3 separate regions of the Homo sapiens genome follow, and regions 1 and 2 are each linked to region 3. Evidence: promoter capture Hi-C in 16 types of primary human blood cells and fetal thymus (Javierre and others, 2016). All regions are on one chromosome and are shown on one strand. Each heading gives the region's core, a stretch centred on a gene start or on the middle of the fragment in contact. The rest is flanking DNA. Distances are from core to core; before and after follow the strand shown.

Region 1 (4,844 bases), core at 1,670-4,169, 910 kb after region 3:
TTTCTTTGTCTCTGCAGAGCAAGGATAATAATGGCTTTCCACTGTTGCTAATCTCAGGATTCCTCACTATCTATTGGTGATTCGCTTAACCCTGTCATCTAATCATTTATTTATTTATTAGAGATGGGTTCTTGCTCTGTTGCCCAGGCTAGAATGCAGTGGCTATTAACAAGTGCTATCATACTGTACCACAGCCTCAAACTCCTGGCCTCAAGCAATCGACCTACCTCAGCCTCCCAAGTAGCTGGGACTATGGGTGCGCACCACTGTGCCCAGCTTTTATTTTTATAAATGGTCCTTTTATTATATTCTCTTTCTGTGCTTTTTCTTCCCAGAAACCCGATTGATAAAGTTATAGGGATTAGAATTAGTCTCAGAAAAGAGACTCTCAAAATGGCTTTCTAGGATGATATCACTCACATATCTGATGATTACTTGTATAAACTACTTGCCAAGGAAAATGGAACAGTGGTATCCTGTAGCATGGAGTGGCATCACAATTACTCAAACTATCAGCAGTGACATGAAATGGAGTGTCAGTGTAGGGCACAACATTGAAAGATCAATCTCTAGCACTTAGCTGCTGTAACAGTGAGGTTTACTAAAATTATTGTGTCATTTGGCTCTTCTGACTGCTTCTGTGAGAGTACATGAAAACAAGACAAATAGCTTTGGGTTCCAAATACCAGGCATGAATAGAAAATCAGAAAACTTCCTTGACAGCTTTGAAGAAATCCATTATCTCTCATAGCTAAGGGGAAGATATGGCTGAGGACCAAGTCCAGGGCCTGACTATAAAGGCTTTGGAGTTGCAATGTTAATTAAACGTGAGACCCAGTTCTGTTATGCTAAAGTAAGGGCACTGGTGGAGATGGCCTAGAACCTATGACATGGGATGGGGGCATTTGAGCAGATATGAATGAGGCTTAGAACTTTAAACATGAGTTAGAAGAAAGAGTTTCAGTATAGCCCTAATGGGGAAGTACACAGAATGCTCTTGGAGGAGAGCTTATACAATGAAGAAGTTGTAGGATCTTGCTAAATACTTACCTGGGATTCAGATTTGCTCTGTTGACTTGAGCATCTGGAAGTCCTTCTAAGTGGGTTACTAGAAGCTTGTTCTCAATAATAGCTTACAATCTATGTGCTGAGATGCCAGAATTTCCCTGGCATACTGTAGAAGAAAGAATCTCAAGGTTTAGGGAGATGGGATGTTGGATTTGCTCTGTTATAGTCATTCTGCTTAGTCAAACTCTATTCATACCATGCCCAGGAGGGCCCATACAATTTACTCTTTTCAAGGCATTGAATGAGGGAGAACAGATATCCTCGAAAGATTCTTCTGTGGCTGCCCTCAGTGGATTAGAGATGATGATTGGGAGCCCACATTGAAACTGGGATCCATGATTTTATATCCTGGTAGAGGTCAGGTGGCTCAACTGTCAAAGACATGTTTAGCACAGTTACTATAATAACCTTCAGGAAGAAGTGAAATCAGGATGTTTTGATTGCAAGGATAGGTGGTGCTATCCTATTATTAATCCCTGAGTCTCTAGGAATGAATAAAACCATCAGCGTACTTAAGTGCCATTTGACATATGTAGGTGGAAAAATCCTGGGACTGATTGGTAGAAACCTAACTGAAATCTCTGTAACAGAGATTCAAGACATATTACCTGAATCTTAGACATAAACCAATTCACAAACCTGGAGTCCCTTAATTAAGGGTGAGGGCGGATGTCTTTGAGGGAGAGTCCCATAGTGCAGCCAGGTATAAACGGTGACTTTTCCCCAAGGCCATTTCCAGAGGTACTTGTAGCCTTTTACCAGGGTGATTGTGAGCTAAGGAATGGGTGATTCTCATACATTCTGGAGGTTAATTGATATTAGCTCTAAATAATAATCTCTGCAGTCTCAAAATACCGCCAAAATTCCAGTGATTAAAGTAGAGATTTAAGAAAGTCAAGTGGGACTAAAGATCCACTCTGGAGTTATTTTTCCAGTCCCAAAATATATGTGAGTATAGATATATTGAGTAGCAGAATTCCTACATTAGGTTTCTAGGGAGCTATTATGATAGGTAGGAACAAGTGTAACCTCCCTAGCTAACTTCTTACCCATGCCAAAGTAGAATACCAAGATTAAATTTGATCTCCAGGGAAATTACAGAGATTAGTGCCACCATTAAAGATATGAAAGATACAAGTCTTTTCCTTTTAACTCCTCTTGGCTTGTGCAATAGCCAAATTAGTTTTGGAGAATGTGGATTATTAAAAATTTAATCAAATGTTGATGCTAGTCATAGTTGTGGTTCCACATATGGGGGATCTTTACTAGAGCAAATCAGAACAGCTCTTGGCACCTAGAAGGTAGCTATTGACTTGAAAACTAGAAAGTAGCTTTCTTTTCAATTCCCGTCAGCAAAAATAATCAGAAGCAGTTTGCTTTCACATGATTGCAACAGCACTGTCATTGTACTACCTCAGGGATATTTAAAGACTTCTGTTCTATGATAGAGTATCATTCCAGAGGGACCTTTGTTTCCTTGATATCCAGTAGAATATCATGGTAGTCTTTTATCTTGATAACATTATGCAAATTGCACCTTGTGAGCAGGAAGTAGCAACCACCCTACATACTTTAAAAAATACCACTAATACCAGAGAACGAGAGATAAACCCAGTTCAGGAACCTGACACATTAGTGACATTTCTAACAAGGAAGTAGTGCTCTACCTTGTATCATCCACCTTAAAGATGCACAGTGTTTGTTTGGCCTGTTTGTATTTTGAGACAATGTACTGCATTTGCTACTCTTTGACCCATGTAACCTGTATGACTGCCACCTTGTTCATATCACTTGGAACTACATAATGTACTACAGAGAAGGCTATGATGCAAGCTGCCCTGACACTTAGGCTTTAGGATTCAGCAGACCCAATGGTAAACAGGAAACTGTATGGAGTCTCTTGCAACCCCAGTAGGAGAATCCCAATGCAGACCCCTAGGATTTTGGTATAAGAATATGCTGTTGGCCAGGCGCGGTGGCTCACGCCTGTAATCCCAGCATTTAGGGAGGCCGAGGCAGGAGGATCACGAGGTCAGGAGATTGAGATCACGGTGAAACCCCATCTCTCTAAAAATACAAAAAATTAGCTGGGTGCGGTGGCGAGTGCCTGTAGTCCCAGCTACTTGGGAAGCTGAGGCAGGAGAATGGCATGAACCCAGGAGGCAGAGCTTGTAGTGAGCCGAGATCGCGCCACTGCACTCCAGCCTGGGCGACAGAGCGAGATTCCGTCTCAAAAAAAAAAAAAAAAAAAAAAAAAAAAAAAAAAAAAAAAAAGAATATGCTGTTATCTGCTGACAGCTATTGTCTGTTTGAAAGGCAACTCTTGATTTACTTCTAGGTCTTAGTAGAGGCTAGACTCCTGACCACAGGATACTAAGTAACTATGTGACATTAACTGCTCTTTAGAAATTGGGAGTTACCCTGCATGTTCTCACTCATAAGTGAGAGTTGAACAATGAGAACACGTGGACACAGGGAGGGGAACATCACACACCGGGGGCCTGTGGTGTCGGGGGGAGGGGGTTGGGGGCAAGGGGAGAGAGAGCACTAGGACAAATACCTAATGCATACGGGACTTAAAACCTAAATGACAGGTTGATAGGTGCAGCAAACTACCATGGCATATGTATACCTGTGTAACAAACCTGCACATTCTGTACAGGTATCCCAGAACTTAAAGTAAAATTAAAAAAATAAAAGAAAATAAAAGAAATTGGATGTTACCTAATTTACTGGATCGTAAGTTGAACATGGGCAGCAGAATTCCGTTGTCAAATGGAAGAGTATACACTGAGGTGGCCTGAGATGATCTGGAAGACACAAGTAAATCATATGGAACAAATGTCCATTGGACCTGCCCTTACTTCTTTGCCACCTGTTTTTTTTTCAACCCATTATCTATAGGCTCATAGCCATTTAGCAGGGGAAGAAAAAGTTTAGGCTTGGTTTATTAATGGTCTGCATAATATGCTAGCACCAACTTGAAGCAGAGAGCCACAGAATTCTGTGCCCACACCATAATGGGGTGGCCCTGAAAGATAGGAGGAGAAATTCTCCCAGTGGATATAACTTTGAACAATACATCTGGTTGTCCTCTTTTTTAGGAAGAAGAGCTGATCTGAGGTATGGATCTGTACTGATTCATGCACAGTAGCTAATAGGTTGGTCAATTACTTGGAAGGAAGAAGATTTGAGATAAGGAAGTCAGTGGGAGAAGTATTATGGATGGATTCTTAAAATTGCCCAGAATGTGAAAATAACTGTGAACTACAATACTGCCCAGCAGAGGGCATCCATCTCGATAGTTATACAAGAAGATCTGTTCTCCAGGTGTCAATCAGCCTCTTTACACAGTCACTCTAGTGCTTGCTCAGTGTGCCTACGTGACAATAGGAATGTAAGCTAACATTAGATTCAACAATGTAGACTTCTACTTGCCAAGGATAATTCAGTTACTGCCACTATGGAGTGATTAATCTGCTTATAGCAGAGGCCATTGCAGAGATCCCAGTATGATACTGTTCCCTTGACAGATAAGTCAACCATCTGGTGGCAGTTTAATTTCACTAGATTCCTTTCATTATAGAGGGAAGAGTGACCTGTCATCATGGGAATAGATACATATTCTAGGTAGAGGTTTACCTTCCCTGCTTGGAAAGCTTCTATTAGTGCCACAATTCATGGGCTTATGGAATGCCTTGTTTTATCACCATGTATCACAAATATCTTTGAGCAAGAAAGTAATTTTATTATGAGAGAAGTGTGGCAGCAGAGTC
Region 2 (4,199 bases), core at 1,427-3,926, 640 kb after region 3:
ACACCCAAGATCATGCGCTCTCTTTTCCGGCACACACAGACAAGAGGTCATGTGAGGACATAGTAAGAAGGCAGCCATTAACAAGCCAAAAGTCAACCCTACCAGCACCTTAATCTTGGACTTTTAGCCTCCAGAACTGTGGGCTTTTTAGGCCACCCAGTTTGTGCTATTTTGTTATGGAAGTCTGAGAAGACTAATACACTCATCTCTACCATTCCCACATTATCTAACACAGGGTTTCTCAACCTCAGTACTACTGACTTTGGGGGCTAGACATTTCTTTGTTTTGGAGGCCTATTCCCCACACTGAAGGATGTTTAGCAACATTCCTGGTATCTACCCACCAAATCCCAGTAGCTGTGTCCCTCCCCCATCCCAGTTGTGACAATCAAAAATGTCTCTAAACATTGCCAAATGTTCCCCGAGGAGTAAAATTGCCTCTAGTTGAGAACTACTAATCTAATATAAAATGCTTAAATAGTGGTTAACCTTATATCTTGGTATTTAAGTGACAGGATCTCAAAGGGGGAGTGTAACTCAGCTAGTAGAAATTAAACATAATCCAGGATGGATAAAGTAGACTGTTTTTTTTTTGTTTTTTTTTTTGAGAGTTAGTTAGCATGTCTTCAGTCCTATGAAGGACAGTTACACCTTGTTAGGTGGAAGCATACTTTTACTTCTGTCTTTATTTGGAAGCTAAATATCGTTATAAGGTTATAAGGGGCGTGGACAGATGTCAGGTTGACAAAGGGTGGACTGTAGGGGTTTGTACTGAGTCCATTTGGTTAAGCTAGGAACTATGCTTGACAGAATCCCCTTCTCTTCATGGTTCCAACTTAAACTTGGTCAAAACAGGAGATGCATATAATCTGGTGGCAGAGGGCCAGGCGTGGTAGCTCACACCTGTAATCCCAGCACTTTGGGAGGCCGAGGCGGGTGGATCATGAGGTCAGGAGATCGAGACCATCCTGGTTAACATGGTGAAACCCCGTCTCTACTAAAAATACAAAAAAATTAGCCAGGTGTGGTGGCGGGCGCCTGTCCCAGCTACTCGGGAGGCTGAGGCAGGAGAATGGTGTGCACCCGAGAGGCGGAGCTTGCAGTGAGCCAAGACTGCACCAATGGACTCCAGCCTGGGCGACACAGTGAGACTCCGTCTCAAAATAATAATAATAATAATAATAATAATAATAATAATAATAATAATAATAATAATCTGGTGGCAGAAGTAAATCAGCAGGTATTATTCTCTGAAGGTCATCCTAGTCCAATGAGGTGACAGACAGATACCCACTGTCCAGTGAATTCCAGCTCCGCATTCAGCTCTGTTTCCCAATTACTGATCCATCAACTCTCTTCTGAATCTATGCTTTCCCAGAAACTTCCACAATTGTGTAAGGTCTTATTCCTATAATAAATCCTATAGCACTCATTAATGACTCTGCTCCCTTGAGTACAACTTGATGCAGCGAACCTACAGGGAATCCACTGCTTCTATGCCATTCAGTGGTTCTTGCTTTAGGTCCATGTGAAGATGAATAAAAGCAGTCCATCTCCCTCTGGACAACCTGCATACTCCCTCTTCCGAAGTCTTCTGATTTATAGAGAGTTAATAAGTTAGTGGAGATCAGTAGATAGAGTGATAAAATATTAGTTTTGCCTTAAAATTAAACACTCCATATGCTTATAATCCTGTTCTTTGCCAGCAGAGCCACTTAATTAGGACATTCCCAAGTTGAAACCCTCCTTAGAATAAAAGCTGTTAAACTTCCCTAAAAGAAATTCTCTCAGAATTACATTAGACAAATGTCATTCAATAACTTAAAATACAGCCCTGTGGGTTAATTTAATTTTTAATAAAGGGGAGGGAAAGAAAGTAGCCAGCAGTTTTGCTTAAGAATCTTTACCTTTGTATTCTTTATAACAATTGGATATTGCATTCCTGAAAAAAAAGAATAAGTGAAAAATTTATTTTTAGCAAAAGGCCAACATTATTTGAAATATCATACTAGAAACAAACTTAAATAACCTTTTTCTGTCATTACTATGATTGCACCTTACAGTTCATTCTGAAACTTTTTACCAAATAACAATTAAACTAGTTCATACTTAACAACATATAAAACTCCAGCATGTTTTTAGCTTGATTTTAATTCACCTAATCTATGCTTATAAACCATATGCCACCTGACCTCCAATATAGACATAGCTATTCTCTGAACTATAATCCTGGAAACCGCAATGTAAAATGGATAATCATAAATCAGTATGTATTTTCCCACAGACTAAAGCTATGATATGAGAAACCTTGTCATCCAAGTGTTGGTTACTGGATTCCTTGCAGGTTCTATGTTGTTTAGAAAAGCAAGAGTTCTCACAACACAAAAACTTCTAATAAAAAATTGACCATTTTTAAAATTAGTTCCCACTCAGATACATGGGATCTCAAAGTTTTATAAAGCGTATGTAGAGCAGATAAATACAATCTACTTGTATCACAAATTTGGTTTATTATGCTACCTACCTAAAACAACCTTAATTATTTAACAATTTTGCTCATCATCTTAGAATTCAGAAAGACAGAATGATTCAGATGGCTTAGATCTCCTTAAAAACCTGTCAAGGAAGAAAGAACAGAACACTACTTTTTTTCTCCTTCAAATTTCTCAACAGCAAATAGAAGGCTCACAAATCTATCATTTGGACAAAAAAAATTAATGCCCTCAAAGCAAAACAAAACAAACTCTAAGTGAACTCTTAAACTGTGGGGGCTGGGCATGAGGTGGGGGGAGTTCCAAATGGCCAGGTCATTTTATGACCTTAGGCTGTCATTCTGACATTCTAAAACTTGGATGTGTCTAAGAATCACTAAAGGCTTATTACTAGGTGCTATTTCCAGACAGTCTGATTCAGTAAGTATGGGTGATGCTAACATTTGCATTTTGGGCCAAGCACAGTGGCTCATGCCTGTAATCCCAGCATTTTGGGAGGCCAAGGTGGGCAGGTTGTTTGAGCTTAGGGGTTCAAGACAAGCATGGACAACATAGTGAGACCTCAACTCTTTTTATTATTTAAAAAAAAAAAAAGAAGGAAGAAAGTAAAGAGGAAAAAGCATATTTAAAAAGATTGCTTCGATCCCTTTCATGGTTCTTGAAACATACAAGCAGGCTGAGCATGGTGGCTTACGCCTGTAACCCCAGAACTTTGGGAGGCCGAAGTGGGTGGATCACCTGAGGTCAGGAGTTTGAGACCAGCCTGACCAACATGATGAAATCCCATCTCTACCAAAAATACAAAATTAGCTGGGCATGGTGGTGCATGCCTGTAATCCCAGCTACTCAGGAGGCTGAGGCAGGGGAATTGCTTGAACCTGAGAGGCAGAGATTGGAGTGAGCCAAGATCGTGCCATTGCACTCCAGCCTGGGCAATAGGGTGAGACTCCGTCTCAAAAGAAAAAAAAAAAAAAAAGAAATATACAAGCAAAAGAGTTCTTTTGAAATTACTCCTTCGTGACCCTGACACCTCTCTAAGACTGAGCCACATGGGTCACTGCTTTTTTTTTTTTTTGAGACAGAGTCTCACTCTGTTGCCCAGGCTGGAGTGCAGTGCGCTGGTGCAATATCAGCTCACTACAGCCTCTGCCCACCGGATTCCAGCAATTCTCCTGCCTCAGCCTCCTGAGTAGCTGGGATTACAGGCACGTATCACCACACCCGGCTAATTTTTGTATTTTTAGTGGAGATGGGTTTTACCATGTTGGCCAAGCTGGTCTGGAACTCCTGACCTCAGGTGATCCGCCTGCCTTGGCTTCCCAAAGTGTGGGATTACAGGCGTGAGCCAACGCGCCTCCCAGGTCACTGCTTTATATAGACATATTTACAGCTATCAATAAAAAGGATCAGTTCAGTCCTGTACTCTTCACATAGACACCAGGTTTGCCAATTTTCCTACTGACTACGTTTGCCATTTAGAGATACAGAACCTGAATAGTTATACCGGTAAGCTGTACATCTGAGTCCCATAGGATTTTGCAAATTAAGAAAAAATTATTTTATTTAATTAAAAAAAAATTTTTATGTTTAGTAAAGATGGGGTCTCGCGATGTTGCCCAGGCTGGTCTTGAACTCCTGAGCTCAAGCGCTCCACCCACCTTGGCCTCCCAAAGTGCTCGGATTACAGGCGCGAGCCACTGCGCCCAG
Region 3 (4,722 bases), core at 326-2,825:
GTTTCCACACTGCTATCTCCGCGCGCACTCTCTCTTCCCGCAGAAGAACCCCACGCCAGGCTCCGGGAGGACAAACAAGGGGAGCCTCCGCCACCAGGTGAGTTTTCTCCTCCAGGAGATGGCTCCTCCACGCTGCCCGGCGGTGACCCCGCGTGCCTGCTCAAGTCCTGCTCCCCCGGCTTGGGGACACGCTCCTCTCCAGCTGCGGCCGGCGGAGGCGCCACCTCCGGGTCGCCCAGGGTGGTGACCCCGGAGCCCGCAGCCCCAGCCACGCAGGTATCGTGGCCTCCGTCCTCCGCGCGACTCCTCGCGGGTCCCGCCTCCCCCTCGCGAGCGGAAGCGCAGGCCTGGCCGTCAGTTCCGGACCGGTCCGCGGACTCTTCCGGCGCGGCGGCGGCGACGGCGACAGCGGGCTCCCGGCGCGCGGCCGGCAGCACCACTGGCAGCGTAACCACCAGCTGCCGCCGGGCCTTGTTGAATTGTGCCTTGCCGCGGCCATCGTCCACTGGGTACGGGAGCGAGAGCCGCAGCCGGTAGTCAGGTTTCCTCGAGTCGAGGCACAGCAGCTTTCTCGTTACCTCCAGCGCCGCCTGCTCGGCCGAGCGCAACAGCGGCAGTTCGATGGTGATCACCAGCTCATGGGGCACGGGGCTCGGGGCTGAGTCCCTGGAGCAGCGGTAATCCTGGAGGTCCACGTGGTGGCGCTGCACCACGCTGTAGCGAGGCTCGGTGGGGGCGGGCTGCAAGGCCGCTTCCGGAGGGGAGGGCGCCCGGGGCCCGGGGGCTGCCGGGTACTGGTAAGGGTAGGGGAAGTCCGGGAGAGGACCCTTCGGCTCCCCGTCAGGCCTTGCGGGGATGACCCCGGGCAGGGGCGTGCGCAGCACCGCAGCCTCTGGGGTCCCCTTATACTTGGCCTTCAGGGTCTTGGCATTCCTGCGGTCCAGCTTCACGCCGAACTGCTTCTCGACGGCCTCCAGGGCCGTGGCGTCCAGCATCTGGCGGAAGCCCTCGTGCCGCCGGGCCAGCGCAAGCGCGTCTGGATGGAAGACCACGTCGTAGACCATGTAGCGGCTGCTGCTGCGCCCCGCGTACTCGCGGCCGGGCGCCAGGCTGTAGGGCAGGGACCAGTGGCTGCCAGGAGCTGCGCCCCGGTCGCCACCGGAGCCGGGCCGGCTGCTGGGCGCGCCCACCAACGCGTTGCTGCAGACATTCACAAAGCAGCGCCGCGCCCCGTCCAGGCTGGTGCGCAGCACATGGCCGGGCTCCGGGTGCACGAACCGCACTTCCACCCCGCGCTCACGCTCTAGCGCGGTGATCTCCGCCTCGTAGCGCCGCCGGTTCTCCGGGTCGGTGAGCTCCTCGGCGTACTGGGAGAACATTCGCCGGAACTCCGGGTCCTGGAAGGCGGAGGTGAGCCGCTGGACCTCCTCTCCGCTCAGGTCCAAGTCCTCCAGCGACGAGGAGGCCGCCGCTTTGGCCATACTGTCCTGTGGCTCCTCGCCCTCGGGCCAAAGGCGATCAGTCTGACACTGGGTTGGGGGATCCGCCTCAGAGTTTCTGGGCAGCGTACAGTGACGCGGTGGAGGTCGGTAACGGCTGGAAAATTGAGCCTTGAGCAGCGCGTGCTTGTTGTCATAGTTACACCACTAACATTCGGGAGGAGGGGTAGAGATCATGGTGGAATAGGCCGGGCGCGGTGGCTCAGGCCTGTAATCCCAGCACTTTGGGAAGCCTAGGCGGGCGGATCACGAGGTCAGGAGATCGAGACCATCCTGGCTAACACGGTGAAACCCCGTCTCTACTAAAAATACAAAAAATTAGCCGGGCATGGTGGCGGGTGCCTGTAGTCCCAGCTACTCGGAAGGCTGAGGCAGTAGAATGGGGTGAAACCCAGGAGGCAGAGCTCTTGCGGTGAGCCAAGATCGCGCCACTGCACTCCGGCCTGGGCGACAGAGCAAGTCTCTCAAGGAAATCATGGTGGAATAGTGGAAATGCCAGAAATAGCCCTCTTAGATTCTTCAAACCAACCCACCACCGTACTTTGTTTTGTTTTGTTTTGTTTTTCTTTTTTTGAGACAGAGTCTCGCTCTGTCACCCAGGCTGGAGTGCAGTGGCGCAGTTTCGGCTCACTGCAAGCTCCACCTCCCAGGTTCACGCCACTCTCCTGCCTCAGCCTCCCGAGCAGCTGGGACTACAGGCGCCTGCCACTACGCCCAGCTAATGTTTTGTATTTTTACTAGAGACAGGGTTTCACCGTGTTAGCCAGGATGGTCTCGATCTCCTGACTTCGTGATCCGCCCGCCTCGGCCTCCCAGAGTGCTGGGATTATAGGATTACAGGCATGAGCCACCACACCAGGTCCAAAACCTTTTTTTTTTTTTTTTTTTTTTTGAGGCTGTCTCACTCTGTCACCCAGGCTGGAGTGCAGTGGTGCAGTCTTGGCTCACTGCAACCTCCGCCTCCCGGGTTCAGGCAATTCTCCCTGCCTCAGCCTCCCAGGTAGCTGGGATTACAGTGACTCACCACCACGTCCGGCTAAGTTTTGTATTTTTAGTAGGGATGGGATTTCACCATGTTGGCCAGGCTGGTCTCCCACTCTTGACCTCATGTGATCTGCCCACCTCAGCCTCCCAAAGTGCTGGGATTACAGGCATGAGCCACCGCGCCCGGCCTAAAACCTTTCTAATGTGCATATTTTTTTGACCCAAATGCCCTTAGAGTATTTGACACAATACTCTTAGAACATTCTCAAGGTGACATCATTTATGATTCTAAAGGTTTGAGAAGAATCTACAAATTCAACAATGGAACTGATTGAGCAGGTTTTGGTAGAGCCACGCAACAGAGTTTTGTGCAACCATTCAAAATGATCATATGGAAGTATATTTATTTACTGGAGTAATTATTTATTCATTGGTAATTGGTCAATTCAGTGATCATTTTTCTATTCTCAGCAACATTTAACACAGTTGATGTTGGCATTACCTCAGTGACAAGACACTTTCCAGATTTCTCTTCTGTCTCATCACTCTCATAGTTTTGCTCTGTAGGTATCTACTTCTTTTCAACTTCTACATGGAAATGCCCCAAAACTGGGACCCAATCTCTTACCCATCTATACTCTCCTTCAGAAATATATTTACACTCACAAATACTTGTCTTAGACTCAGATTTTACACTCCTATATCCAGCTGCACGTTTGAGGTGTCCATTTGAGTGATTAATGCATAAGCTACTCAGGCTTGAAATGACCAAGATCAGAACTCCTGAATCCTCTTTTCCCAAACCACTGCCTTATCTTATGGTCTCTTGGAAGCATTCAAAGCAGTTGACTGCCCCTTCGAAACACATTTTTCTCATGTTTTGCAGAACTCCAAGCTCTCCCATTTTCCTCCTTTATGCTCCTGCCAGTTCTGCAAATGTGGGAGTTGCCCAAGGCTTTGTTCATCAGCCCTCTTACCTAATCACATTTCTTCCAAGATGTCTTATCCAAGCCCATAGTTTTAAATGCCATCTGTGTTCAAATTAGTCCTTTCAACAGATATTTATTGTGTGCTTATTGCACTTATTATATAGGTAATTAACAAAGATGTGAAGCAGTTGCATTGCTTTTTTTTTTGAGACAGAGTCTTGCTCTGTCGCCTAGACTGGGGTGCTTTGGCGCGATCTTGGCTCACTGCAACCTCCGCCTCCTGGGTTCAAACAATTCTCCTGCCTCAGCCTCCCAAGTAGCTGGGATTGCAGGCACCTACCACTGCGCCCAGCTAATTTTTGTATTTTTTAGTAGAGATGGGATTTCACCATGTTGGTCAGGCTGGTCTCCAACTCCTGAGCTCAGGTGATCCGCCCACCTCGGCTTCCCAAAGTGCTGGGATTACAGGCACAAGCCACCATGCCCAGCCAGCAATTGCACTTTCATATCCTGGGAGTATATATTGGAACACTGTTAACATAAGGCTTACGACAATGAAATTCTCCCAGATACACATTCAACAGAAACACATATCCCCACCAAAACACATGTACTACAATGTGTGTATTCATAGCGGCACTATTTCATAGTTGACAAATTCTGGAAGCAACCCAAATTCTCATTCATAGTAGAATGGATAAATGTAAATATCCACCCACACAATGCACTACTCAACAGTATAGATGAGTATCATTAACATAATGGTGCTTGAAAGAAACCAGATGTAAAATAATACATATGACTCTGTCATATAATAGACAAAACATGGCAAAATAAATCTGTTAAGCCAAGCTAGTGATGGCCATGTTGGGAGAGCTTCTGGGTGAGGGTCTGTTAATCTTGGTTACATTGGGTGTGCAATTTGTGAAATTCATTGTGCTGTACGCTGACAGTAGATTTTATGTATCTTATACTTTTAGAGTTAAAAAATGTACTTTTTTTTTTTTGAGACAGAGTCTCCCTTTGTTATCTAGGCTGCAGTGCAGTGGCACAATCTCAGCTCATTGCAACCTCCGCCTCCCAGGTTCAAGCAGTTCTCCTGCCTCAACCTCCCGAGTAGCTGGGATTACAGATGCCCACCACCACGCCCGGCTAATTTTTCTATTTTTAGTAGAGACGGGGTTTCGCCACGTTGGCCAGGCTGCTGTCAAACTCCTGACCTCAGGTGATCCACCCTCCTCGGCCTCCCAAAGTGCTGGGATTACAGGAATGAGCCACCTTGCCTAGCCTAAAAAAAAGAAAAAAAAAAA

Evidence for each region. Contacts are between HindIII fragments. The CHiCAGO score rates a contact against its expected background, and 5 or more counts as called.
Region 1: a contact is called between a fragment that was not itself captured here and the fragment with the promoter of DNAAF2 in region 3, in 1 of 17 cell types (non-activated CD4 T cells). The highest score is 5.8, in non-activated CD4 T cells.
Region 2: a contact is called between a fragment that was not itself captured here and the fragment with the promoter of DNAAF2 in region 3, in 1 of 17 cell types (naive CD4 T cells). The highest score is 5.4, in naive CD4 T cells.

What each region holds. Positions count from the first base shown.
Region 1 is chr14:50,538,707-50,543,550 of GRCh38, forward strand. It overlaps a transcript of MAP4K5 not described here and a transcript of ATL1 not described here. Among named protein-coding and RNA genes, the nearest start is that of MAP4K5, 8.6 kb to the left of the region's middle. The HindIII fragment of the contact is 3,612 bases long and covers 1,114-4,725 here.
Region 2 is chr14:50,276,613-50,280,811 of GRCh38, forward strand. It overlaps L2HGDH (L-2-hydroxyglutarate dehydrogenase), which reads right to left. Exons shown (of 10, transcript NM_024884.3): 6 at 1,908-1,942. Among named protein-coding and RNA genes, the nearest start is that of MIR4504, 21 kb to the right of the region's middle. The HindIII fragment of the contact is 6,330 bases long and covers 1-4,199 here.
Region 3 is chr14:49,633,669-49,638,390 of GRCh38, forward strand. DNAAF2 (dynein axonemal assembly factor 2) reads right to left here and starts at 1,576. Exons shown (of 3, transcript NM_018139.3): 1 at 1-1,576. The coding sequence starts at 1,481. RefSeq lists silencers at 138-407, 678-917, 1,148-1,197 and enhancers at 408-647, 460-1,220. The HindIII fragment of the contact is 6,803 bases long and covers 1-4,722 here.